Regions from separate parts of the Homo sapiens genome. Here all the other regions are linked to region 2. The links are contacts of gene promoters, found by promoter capture Hi-C in blood cells and fetal thymus (Javierre and others, 2016). All regions are on one chromosome and are shown on one strand. The core of a region is centred on a gene start or on the middle of the fragment in contact, and the rest is flanking DNA. Distances in the headings are between cores, read along the strand shown. Region 1 has its middle 4.3 kb from the start of ACTL6A. Region 2 holds the start of MFN1 (mitofusin 1). Region 3 overlaps PIK3CA-DT (PIK3CA divergent transcript).

Region 1 (3,637 bases), core at 1,102-3,601, 210 kb before region 2:
AAGAGAGTAAAATATTTGTTCCACTTGTTCAGCATTTATCTTAAAACAAAACAGTTCAAGAGGGTTGATGATGAGGACCACGCCCTCTAGCCTCTGGAAAGCCTGAGATGGGACTGTCTCCTCCCCAGATTTAAAACTGTCCTGCACCGTGTGCAGAGTAACCAAACTGTGCAGGAGAATTGTAAATCTGACAGCACAAAGAAGATGGAAGTGACACTCAGATGATTTTGCTTAAAGTCAGGTTTTGCTCCATTTGATAATTTGGAAAAATACTAGAAAACAGATCATTTGTTTGTTCATTCATTTGTAATATCAGGTTGGCTTGGAATCTCTTGATGTCCCATTGGAACCACGGCTTCATTTAATAATAAGCCATTGAAATGAATTTCAAAGGAAATAAACTTCACATTACATCTGATGTTTCAGGACAAATCACATGTTGACACAGATAAAAGTGCACACTTGTGAATCCTTTGATAAATTTTAATCAATAAAAAATGTAATAGGACACTAAGACTATTGGCCCTGAAATATTGAATTGCTGGAGCATGAGATTGTTCAGAAAGAAAACCTATTCAGCCTTCTAAAAGAACTATGTCGGTGGATGGGCATCCTCCATATTAATGACGTTATTTCCTTTGACTTAACAGTATGGCTGTTTTCTATTCTTTTTTTTTTTTTTTTTTTTTTTTTTTTTGTAAAACAGAGTCTCGCTCTATAGCCCAGGCTGGAGTGCAGTGGCATGGTCTTGGCTCACTGCAACCTCCATCTCCCAGGTTGAAGTGATTCTCCTGCCTCAGCCTCCCCAGTAGTTGGGACTACAGGCATGTGCCACCATGCCCAGCTAATTTTTGTATTTTTAGTAGAGAAGGAGTTTCACCATGTTGGCCAGGCTGGTCTTGAACTCCTGGCCTCAAGAGATCCACCTGCCTCGGCCTCCCAATCTTCAATTCTTAGGAAAACTAGTTGAAAGTACATTAAAACAAAAGTACTAACCCAGCAAAATCTGCTTTATGAAATATAAAATATATGAGGGTTGGGGTTTTTTGAGTAGTGATATTTCTCCCCTGTTGTCTAACATGTTTTCTCTAAAGTCTTGGCTCAGCCTATATTAATGTTGTCAATAACTAGTCAGATTAAACTGCAACAACTCAAGGTTATTGTCTGTTATTTCAGTTCTCAAAGGCACAGCATATCAAAACTATCAATGCTTGCAATTTTCCCCCTGAACCAATATATCAGGTATGTCAACCTAAAAACAAAAGATGTTGAAGTAACAGGTATATAAATTTATCTAGCCCAGAGTAGGTGCTCAGTGGTTGATTCCGAATCCAGTTTACAAAAATAAAGAGGCTTTCAAAAATCATTTGTAATATCCAAGCATCAAGAATTTCTTCTGTGGCCCCAGGTGCAACAATTGGCTTTGCCACATTGGGTCGCTGGTCGTCCATTCTTGTAATGATCCACCAGGACTTGTGATGCTGGATCCTCTCTACTTTCTTCACCAGCCCTGTCAGCACTCAGGTTATGGAATTTCAGCAGTCATTACAAAATGTTACATATCTTATCCTCTGTCTCAGCTTTTATTAAGTTCAGCATTGAAAAAAAAATGCAACTGCTGTTTATGCAAGCTAGGAAACAAATTCAGAAAATTATCATCCGTCAGGAAGAAATGACACAAAAATTTATGTACATTTAGAATTATTTTGTTTCATGCTGCAAAATATATAAAGTTGGCAGTAGTAAAAAGCAATTTTCAAAATAGACATTTTTGTGTGTATGAGGAGTCATTGTAAGCACCATCCTTTGCGTACTGAAGTTCCAAATGTATAACACTCATCCAAGCACTACTGAGATAAAAGATAAATACCTGGTATCATATATAGGGTTTTTCAACAATAGAAATATGATTGGTAAGATTCATACATGTTTGCCATCAGAATAGTAAGAGATCTATCCATTTCAATAATGTAACCTAGATCTATAAAGAAGCAAATAAAAGTATGTTTGGTCACAGCTGGTAACTTTATAACACACTAATAGGTTTGCTATGGTATTAACAATGGTCCTGAACAGACAAGAAAGTAAAGAAAAAAAGATGAGATGCTAAATTCTCGGTGAGTTGTACGAGTCTATATTGTTATTTCATTATCTTTAAAAAAAAAAAAAAACCTCTTCTTTGTTCATTCAATATAGCTTTTGGGGAAAATCACCATGTGAGTTAGCAATGCCAACATTTAATCAACTGGTGCTGTAAAGTGACACTGTGTCACTTGGGGCCACTTTTGGGCAAATCAGGGCTTCTCATTGATCTAGGTCAGTAGCAACACCATGTTGTAAGGCTGTTACACAGCTCGAGGAGCAATACTCTCCTGAGTCCAAGGTTCTTGCTAAGGATGGCTTCTTTGGAACACTTGAAACTGCTTTGGAATAGAAAGGATTTCATCGGCCACACGATAATAATGACCACAAATTACTGAACTTTATGTGCTATCATAGGAAAGACGCTTTATATACAATATTTTCCATTAATCGACTTATCCTTCTGAGGGTTTTGGCAGAAGAGGCCCAGAGATTTACCAGCTTGCCCAACATCACAAAGCTATTGAGAGTCAGGATTTGAAACTAGAGTTGTCTGAACCTACTGAGTATGCTGTTTCTACTTCAAGATAGCTTTCTCTTTCCACTTCCATGCTTCTAGTAAACTTGAAAAACAATCATTTCAATTATATATAATATATAATAATATAATCTGTATATATTATATATGTATATACACAGACATGTATGTAAATCTAAAGGTATAAAAAGATACAGAGAACTAAGTCTTCCCTTTTACCTGTATCCCTAGCCGTCTCCTCTTCAGGGTGGTTCTATGCTTATACAACTGATTATGTAGATATATTCCCCCTTCTCTATTTTTTCTGATCCAAATGTAACTCACAATACACTAGGGATCTTTAAGAAGCATTCTCGGGCCGGGCGCGGTGGCTCACGCCTGTAATCCCAGCAGTTTGGGAGGCCGAGGCGGGTGGATCACGAGGTCAGGAGATCGAGACCATCCTGGCTAACACGGTGAAACCCCGTCTCTACTAAAAATATAAAAAATTAGCCGGGCGTGGTGGCGGGCGCCTGTAGTCCCAGCTACGCGGGAGGCTGAGGCAGGAGAATGGCGTGAACCCGGGAGGCGGAGCTTGCACTGAGCCAAGATCACGCCACTGCACTCCAGCCTGGGCGACAGAGCAAGACTCCGTCTCAAAAAAAAAAAAAAAAAAGCATTCTCGGCTGGGCACAGTGACTCACACCTGTAATCCCAGCACTTTGGAAGGCCCTGGTGGGAGAACTGCTTGAGCCCAGGAGTTCAAGGCCAGCCTGGGCAGCACAGTGAGACCCCTGTCTCTACAAAAAGTAATAAAAAAAATTAGCCAGGCTGGTGGTGTATGCATGTAGTCCCAGCTATTTAAGAGGCTGAGGTGTGAGGATTACTTGAAGCTGGGAGGTCCAGGGTGCAGTGAGCCATGATCGCATCACTGCACTCCAGCCTAGGATACAGAGAGAAACGCTGTCTCAAAAAAAAAAAAAAAAAGCATTATTCTTTTTGGAAATCAATTTTAAAATATTTACTTTGGACATTTTT
Region 2 (3,555 bases), core at 840-3,339:
TGGTGGCTCACACCTGTAATCCCAGCACTTTGGGAGGCCAAGAGAGGTGATCATGGGGTCAGGAGTTCGAGACCAGCCTGGCCAATATGGTGAAACCCTGTCTCTACTAAAAACACAAAAATTAGTCAGGCATGGTGGCACGTGCACTGTAGTCCCATTTACTTGGGAGGCTGAGGCAGAAGAATCGCTTGAACCCAGGAAGTGGAGGCTGCAGTGAGCCAAGAACATGCCACTGCACTCCAGCCTGGGCAACAAGACAAGACTCTGTCTCAAAAAAAAAAAAAAGAAGTATTCCCTAGTAAGACATGACATTCCTCATCACCTTTAACAGTTATGAAACTCCTTTTTCCCCCTTTCCACTGCAATTCAGCCTCATTTGAGAGAATGAGATATGTCTGAGGTCTTGGCTTAACTGCTAAATTGGGGAGGAGACAAGTATAATGGTTAAATGTGGACTGCCTGATTTTTTGTCTGGGCACTTATTAGCTGTGTGATCTTGGGCAAACTGTTTAACTTTTCTTTGACTTCGTCTCTTCATCTTTAAAATGACAGATGGTGGTGATGAAAATTAAATGAACTATTAACATAGCTATTTCTCATCACCTAGTGGTGATGAAAATTAAATGAGCTATTAATATACTAAAGTTCTTAGTTGTTATTAATACCATTTAATTTTCCCCTTCTGGAGGTTAGAAAGGGGTTTTATTCATTATGGTACTTCTCATAGTATACAGTATAATGCCCTATACATGTGTTCAATAACTAACGTTGAAAGAATAAGCACTTTTATATATTTTCAACAGTAATTACTTTAAAAACTTAAGAAGAACTAACCTTCAACAAAATGTGATCCTTCAGTAACAAACTCCAGTAACTGGTCAAAGATTGCAGTAATCGCCTTCTTAGCCAGCACAAAGTGCTTCAGTGGAGAAACAGGTTCTGCCATTATGCTACTAGAGGGAGATAAAGTTAGAAAAGCACCAACTAAAGTGGATGATAGACATGCAAACTGATGACACACCAGTGACATTCATCAACTCCCCAATGAAATAAATTATGCTGGCAAAATGTTTTTAGGTAATTCTTTTTTGGGAGTGTTCTAGTCAGACAGTTAGAGACGACTTTTGAATGATATTTCACTAAAATAAGTGAAATCTATTAGCCAAAATCTTGGTTGCAATTTCTACTCAATTTCCCTTTGGTGAAGACGAAACTAATTGTGACTAAGTTTGTCACTGCATGTGACTCTAAAGTACATCAGGGAACAGGGTTAGTGAGGCGAAGCCAAATTCACACACAATAAGGAAGTTACTAAGTTTCTCAACCTGAAGCTCTAGGTGAGTAGGAGTGGATATGCAGAGTGAGGAAATAAAATTCTAAGATCACAATGTGAGGCTGACATTTAGAAAGGTAAGGCTTCAAGAGGGCATTAACGCTTCCAGCCAAAGTACCAGAAACTTCAAGGACTATAAGTTTAAGAAAGCATAGGTGGTTTCTCAAGAAAAAGACACCAAAGACAAACAATCACGGTCTAATCCTGGTGTGTACATGGAAAGGAACAGTGGCCATAAAGAAGGCGGATTCTTCCAGAGAGTCAAGAAATGACCGCGCGAAGGAGCTGCGTGGGAAAAGCCGGGTGGGGGTAACGCCCCGGTCCGGCCGGTGTGAACACCTGCCTTAGAAAAGGCCTCCCACCTTCCCACACCGGGCGCAGGAGTCAGGGCCAGAGCCCACCCCCGCCCCGCGCACGACCGTCTAGGTCCGGATCCCCCAATCCCACCCCCGAGCACGGCCTCGTGGGCTCCGTGGGCTCGACTCGGCCGCCAGCCCCGTTCGCCCGACAGCTGGCTCTCTCCTTTCCCACAGGACCGCGGCGGGCGGCGCCTCGTCACACAACGCTGCATGCACGACTCCCGCCCCCGGTCCCCAGTCGCTCGAAGGTCACTCCGAGCGTCGCAAACGTGCTGTCGAGGCAGCCGGCACTCACAGTCTCCGCTCCAACTATCACCCGGCAACAGCAACTCGGCCACAGATGCCAAACTGCCTCATCTTCCCGAGAAGTTAAAGGCGGAGAGGAGGCAGGGGGAGTGGCAAAGGGCGGTCACTTCCGGCCTCTTGCCTCCTCTGTTCTGTTTGGCTCCGTGGCCGGAAGCGCATCTATGCCAGGCGCCATTTTCCTTAAGGGCAGAAGGCAAGGTTTGTTGTGGGCAGAGACTGCTACCAGGAGAGTGGTTTTCCGTTCCCCCTTCCAACTTCTTCCCCTCCCTTCTCCCCTCAAAGTGTCCAAGTATCTGCCCAGCCTAGGCTTAGCTAGCTTCCAATGATGGTGGTGGCTGACGCCTATAATCCCAGCACTTTGGGAGACCGAAGGGGTGGGATATCTCTTAAGCCCAGGAGTTCGAGACTAGGCTGGGCAACATAGGGAGGCGCCCCCCCCCCCGCCCCCGACCCTCTTCCTCCTCCCCGTCTCTACAAAATTAAAAAATGAAAAATTAAAAAAATTTTAAAAACTTAGCGAGGCGTGGTGGCACACACCTGTGGTCCCAGCTACTTCGGAGACTGAGGCGGGGGGATTGTTTGGGCCCGGGGCTGCAGCGAACTGTGATTTATCGTGCCACTGCACTCCAGCCTGGGCAAGAGAGCGAGACATTTTTTCAAATAAATAAATAAATAAATAAAAGAAAAGAAATCCAGATCGTATTACTTTCCGAACTTAAAAAGCTTTCCAGGCCGGGCGGGGTGGCTCACGCCTGTAATCCCAGCACTTTGGGAGGCCGAGGCGGGCGGATCACAAGGTCAGGAGATCGGGAGCATCCTGGCTAACACGGTGAACGCCCGTCTCTACTAAAAATACAAGAAGTAGCCGGGCGTGGTGGTGGCGGGCGCCTGTAGTTCCAGCTACTCAGGAGCCTGAGGCAGAGAATTGCTTGAACCCGGGAGGCGGAGGTTACAGTGAGCCGAGATCGCGCCACTGCACTCCAGCCTGGGCGACAGAGCCAGACTCCATCTCAAAAAAAAAAAAAAAAAAAAAAAAAAAAAAAAAAAAGCTTTCCAACAGCTTGCCATTATACTTAAAATTAAAGCTTCGGATGGTAACCGCCCAAGGAAAGCCTTCACCTTGCCCGCTGACTAGCCAGAACTGATACAAGACAGGGGGATTGCAAATAAAGACTTAGTCACGCAAAGCCGGCTGTATGGGAGACTGGAGTTTTATTATTACTGAAATCAGTCTCCCCGAGCAGCACTGGGGAGCAGAATTTTTAAGGACAATTTGGTGGGTTGGGGGAGGCCACTGAGCCAGGAGTGCTGATTGGTCAGGGATGAAATCGCAGGGAGTGGAAGCTGTCTTTCTGCACGAGTCAGTTCCTGGGTTGGGGGACACTAGGTCAGATGAGCCAGTTTATCGGTCTGGGTCGTGCCAGCTAATCCATCAGTTCTGAGCATAGGTAGTCTCAAAGGGAACATTTACTCTGTTTGAATTTTAAAAATCATGATGGTATCCTTTTATTAGTTCTGTACTTAATAATTATATTTAATATAATTACTGCATTTTAA
Region 3 (3,589 bases), core at 354-2,853, 240 kb after region 2:
TTTTTCTCTTGATTACTTGCTGTAACTATGTCATGAGAACCCACCAGAATCTTATGGAGAGGTCTGTGTAGCTAAACTGAGATATCTTACCAGCAGCCATGTAATGAATCATCTTAAAGAGGGTCCTCCAAATCTTCAGAAAACTGCAGCCCCAGATGACAGCTTGACTGCAGTTTTATGAGAGACTCTGATTCCAAACCATTTAGCTAGGTTGCTCCCAGATTCTTGACTCACAGAAACTATGTGAGATAATACTTGTTGTAAGCTGCTAAGTTTTGAAGTAATTTGTCATGCAGCAATAGATAACTAACATACTTTGCCTCTGAGTGTTCTTATAGCATCCTGCTCTTGTTTCACAGATATCCTATTGTCTATTATTTCACAGGACATGAATAGTCATTATTTGTGTATTTTAAGTTTTCATTTGCTCACTGCGTTGTCTAATTCTTTTGGATTTCATTTTTTTTTTTTTTATATTAAGGATAGCTGACAAAAAGCCAAAAAGATGGAAGGGGATACAGATTCTGGGAGTGAGGTGTGGGGAGAGGAGGCAAACAAATGTCCAAGTCAGCTACGAAAATCAAGAAAAATAAAGCAGAGTAAATGATAAATATCCTATAAAGAGATAATTATGTATATACTCCAGAGCAGGGGACCTCAACCCCTGGTACCAGTCTGTGGCCTGTTAAGAACCAGGCCACACAGCAGGAAGCGAGTGGTGGGTAAGCAAGCAAAGCTTCATGTGTATTTGCAGCTACTCCCTATTGCTCATATTAACACCTGACCTCTGCCTCCTGTCAGATCAGTGGTGGCATTAGATTCTCATATGAGTGCAAACCCTACTGTGAATTCTGCATGCGAGGGATCTAGGTTGCACTGCCTTATGAGATTCTAATGCCTGATGGTCTGTCACTATCTCCCATCACCCCCAGTTGGGACTGTCTAGTTGCAGGAAAACAAGCTCAAGGTTCCCACTGATTCTACATTATGGCGAGTTGTATAATTATTTCATTATATATTACAATGAAATAATAATAGAAATAAAGTGCACAATAAATGTAATACACTTGAATCATTCCAAAATCACCCCTACCCCAGTCTGTGGAAAAATTGTCTCCCACAAAACCTGTCCCTGGTGTCAAAAAGGTTGGGAACTGCTGTTCTAGAGGTTTGCTTTGCTCACTTATAAATCATGGGAAGCATTAAACATAGTCTGTCAACCTGATTTAATCAACTATCATTGGCACTCAAATTTCTTTCTTTCCTTTTTTTTTTTTTTTTTTTTTGAGACGGAGTCTCGCTCTGTCGCCCACGCTGGAGGGCAGTAGCATGATCTCGGCTCACCGCAACCTCCACTTCCGGCTCAAGCGATTCTCCCACCTCAGCCCACGCAGTAGCTGGGATTACAGGTGTACACCACCACACCTGGCTAATTTTTTGTATTTTTAGTAGAGGCAGAGTCTCACCATGTTGGCCAGGCAGGTCTCGAACTCCTGGTCTCAAGTGATCCACCCGCCTCAGCCTCCCAAAGTGCTGGGATTACAGGCGTGAACCACTACACCCGGCCTCAAATTTCTTAATTCACATAATCTTTGACAAATATTTCTAATCTAATGTAAGTTAGAAGTACTCAGTGGTGATTCTATACTGTTTCACTTGAATTCTCCTGTCCTAAAGCTGTGTGATGGATAAACCAAGACGTTACAAGAGTGTATTTAGAAAACCTACATATTATTTATCTAACAAGTGGACTGAATGTGGAATTAGTTGAAGGGTAGTTTTCAGACAAAGATAAAGGTCAATAGACTCTTTGTAAACCCCATCACCTACTGTCTGTGTCCTTGAGTAAGTTTCTTAAACTTTAAGAGCCTCTTTTGTAAAATGGGGTTATTTATATATCTACCATAAGGTTGTTATAACAATTTAATGAGATAAAGTACTTAGCATAGTGCATGGAACATTGTTAGCCTTTTTTTTTTGTCTTCTTCTCCTTCTAACTTCTCTTCTCCCCACTATTCTCTTCCTTATGCTACCTCTCTCTCTCTCTTTTTTTTTTTTTGCTTCTCCTCTACTTTATACTTCTCCGTAGTATTAGTATTACATAACAATGAGTTATCATGAATTTTGGATCTGTCTTGGAAGGGCTTCTGACTTATTGACAAGTTTTCTTTTCTTTTCTTTTCCTTTCCTTTTCTTTTCCTTTCTTTCTTTCTTTTCTTTCTTGACAGGTTCTTGCTCTGTCACCCAGGCTGGAGTGCACTGGTGTGATTATAGCTACTGCAGCCTTGACCTGCTGGGTTCAAGTGATCCTCCTGCCTTGGTCTCCTAAAGTGCTGGGATAACAGGCATGAGCCACTGTACCCAGCCTTTATTGGCCAGTTTCATAAGTCTTATCAATATGCTACCACACCAAAAGATATTGGTACCTACATTTATGAGTCATAATCAGACCTCAAACACAGAAGCTTGACTTTCTATAACACACCTAAATCACTGAACAAAATGTTACAGAAAGCCTACTCTGTGAGAGAAATGCTGGGTGGTGGCTATACCAAAATATGACATACTGCTGAAAGTCTAGGGGAGGAGGCAGTCAAATATGCTATTACATGGAACTATCACTAATATAGGCATTTTCAGAACGTTATGGGAGCACTGATATGCTTATGATGGTCACTGAAGGCTTGGCAAAAAAGAAAGAACTTGAAAGGGATGGTGTCTGTGTTTGTGGTTTTGTGTGTGTGTGTGTGTGTGTATAAGGTTGGGCATCTTTCCACATGTGAGAAATAACATATGCAAACTACAGAGATATGAGAGTGTATTATTATGATTGGAGACTAGTAAGTAGCTGAGTGTAAAATCTGAGGACTTGCTATGTATCAAAGTTGTGTGGGAAAACATGGAGTCTTCAAAGACAAAAATACAGTTTTTGCCTGTACAAAAGCAACAAATTAAGTCCGTACTTGCTATCGGAGAATTATAAAATCAGCAGAAGAAATACTCTCATAGCACTTCGTTATAGTCTTTGTTTAATAATCTATCAATGTTTAATTTATTGTCAATGTATTTGTTACTTAATCTGTCAATGCATTTAATAATCTATCAATGTTTATTGGATAAAGAAATAATTAATGACAAATCTTGAAAAATGTTCAAGAGTCAGTGAAGATGAAGCTTTATTTCTCTTTCCCAGATATTACTATTGCCTCTACTCACTCCAGTGTTTCAATATTTATGTGGTACCCATGTGTTTCCTTTTATGTATTTGGCCCTTCTCATTGTTTGCTGCCATCTAGTGTAATGAAGTTGATGTTGTAATGTTTTGTTAACTAAAATGATATTCTCTTGGTTTTTGAGGAGTACTGCCATTCATAATTCGTTTAAAAACTTAAGCCATAATAAAAATTTCAATGAAAGGTGAGAGAGTGCCATCATTATGATGATATTATTTAATAGTGTATAATGATAATTTTGGAGATTAGATTCTATGCATTAAAGCTAAGTAAGTGAAAGAACCTGTATACAATTCGAGAGACTGTAGGTCTAGTAATGGTAATTAATATAATTTTAAAAACTAAATACATTCTGA

What was found. Contacts are between HindIII fragments. The CHiCAGO score rates a contact against its expected background, and 5 or more counts as called.
Region 1: a contact is called between a fragment that was not itself captured here and the fragment with the promoter of MFN1 in region 2, in 3 of 17 cell types (neutrophils, naive B cells and monocytes). The highest score is 8.8, in neutrophils.
Region 3: a contact is called between a fragment that was not itself captured here and the fragment with the promoter of MFN1 in region 2, in 1 of 17 cell types (total B cells). The highest score is 5.6, in total B cells.

What each region holds. Positions count from the first base shown.
Region 1 is chr3:179,556,762-179,560,398 of GRCh38, reverse strand. No RefSeq gene overlaps it. Among named protein-coding and RNA genes, the nearest start is that of ACTL6A, 4.3 kb to the left of the region's middle. RefSeq lists a silencer at 1,304-1,598. The HindIII fragment of the contact is 6,108 bases long and covers 1-3,637 here.
Region 2 is chr3:179,346,243-179,349,797 of GRCh38, reverse strand. It overlaps MFN1 (mitofusin 1), which reads right to left and starts at 2,089. Exons shown (of 18, transcript NM_033540.3): 1 at 1,988-2,089; 2 at 835-953. The coding sequence starts at 946. RefSeq lists enhancers at 1,298-1,517, 1,851-2,380 and a silencer at 1,638-1,797. The HindIII fragment of the contact is 3,693 bases long and covers 1-2,723 here.
Region 3 is chr3:179,104,969-179,108,557 of GRCh38, reverse strand. All of the region lies in intron 2 of PIK3CA-DT (PIK3CA divergent transcript), which reads left to right. Among named protein-coding and RNA genes, the nearest start is that of ZMAT3, 35 kb to the right of the region's middle. The HindIII fragment of the contact is 1,729 bases long and covers 739-2,467 here.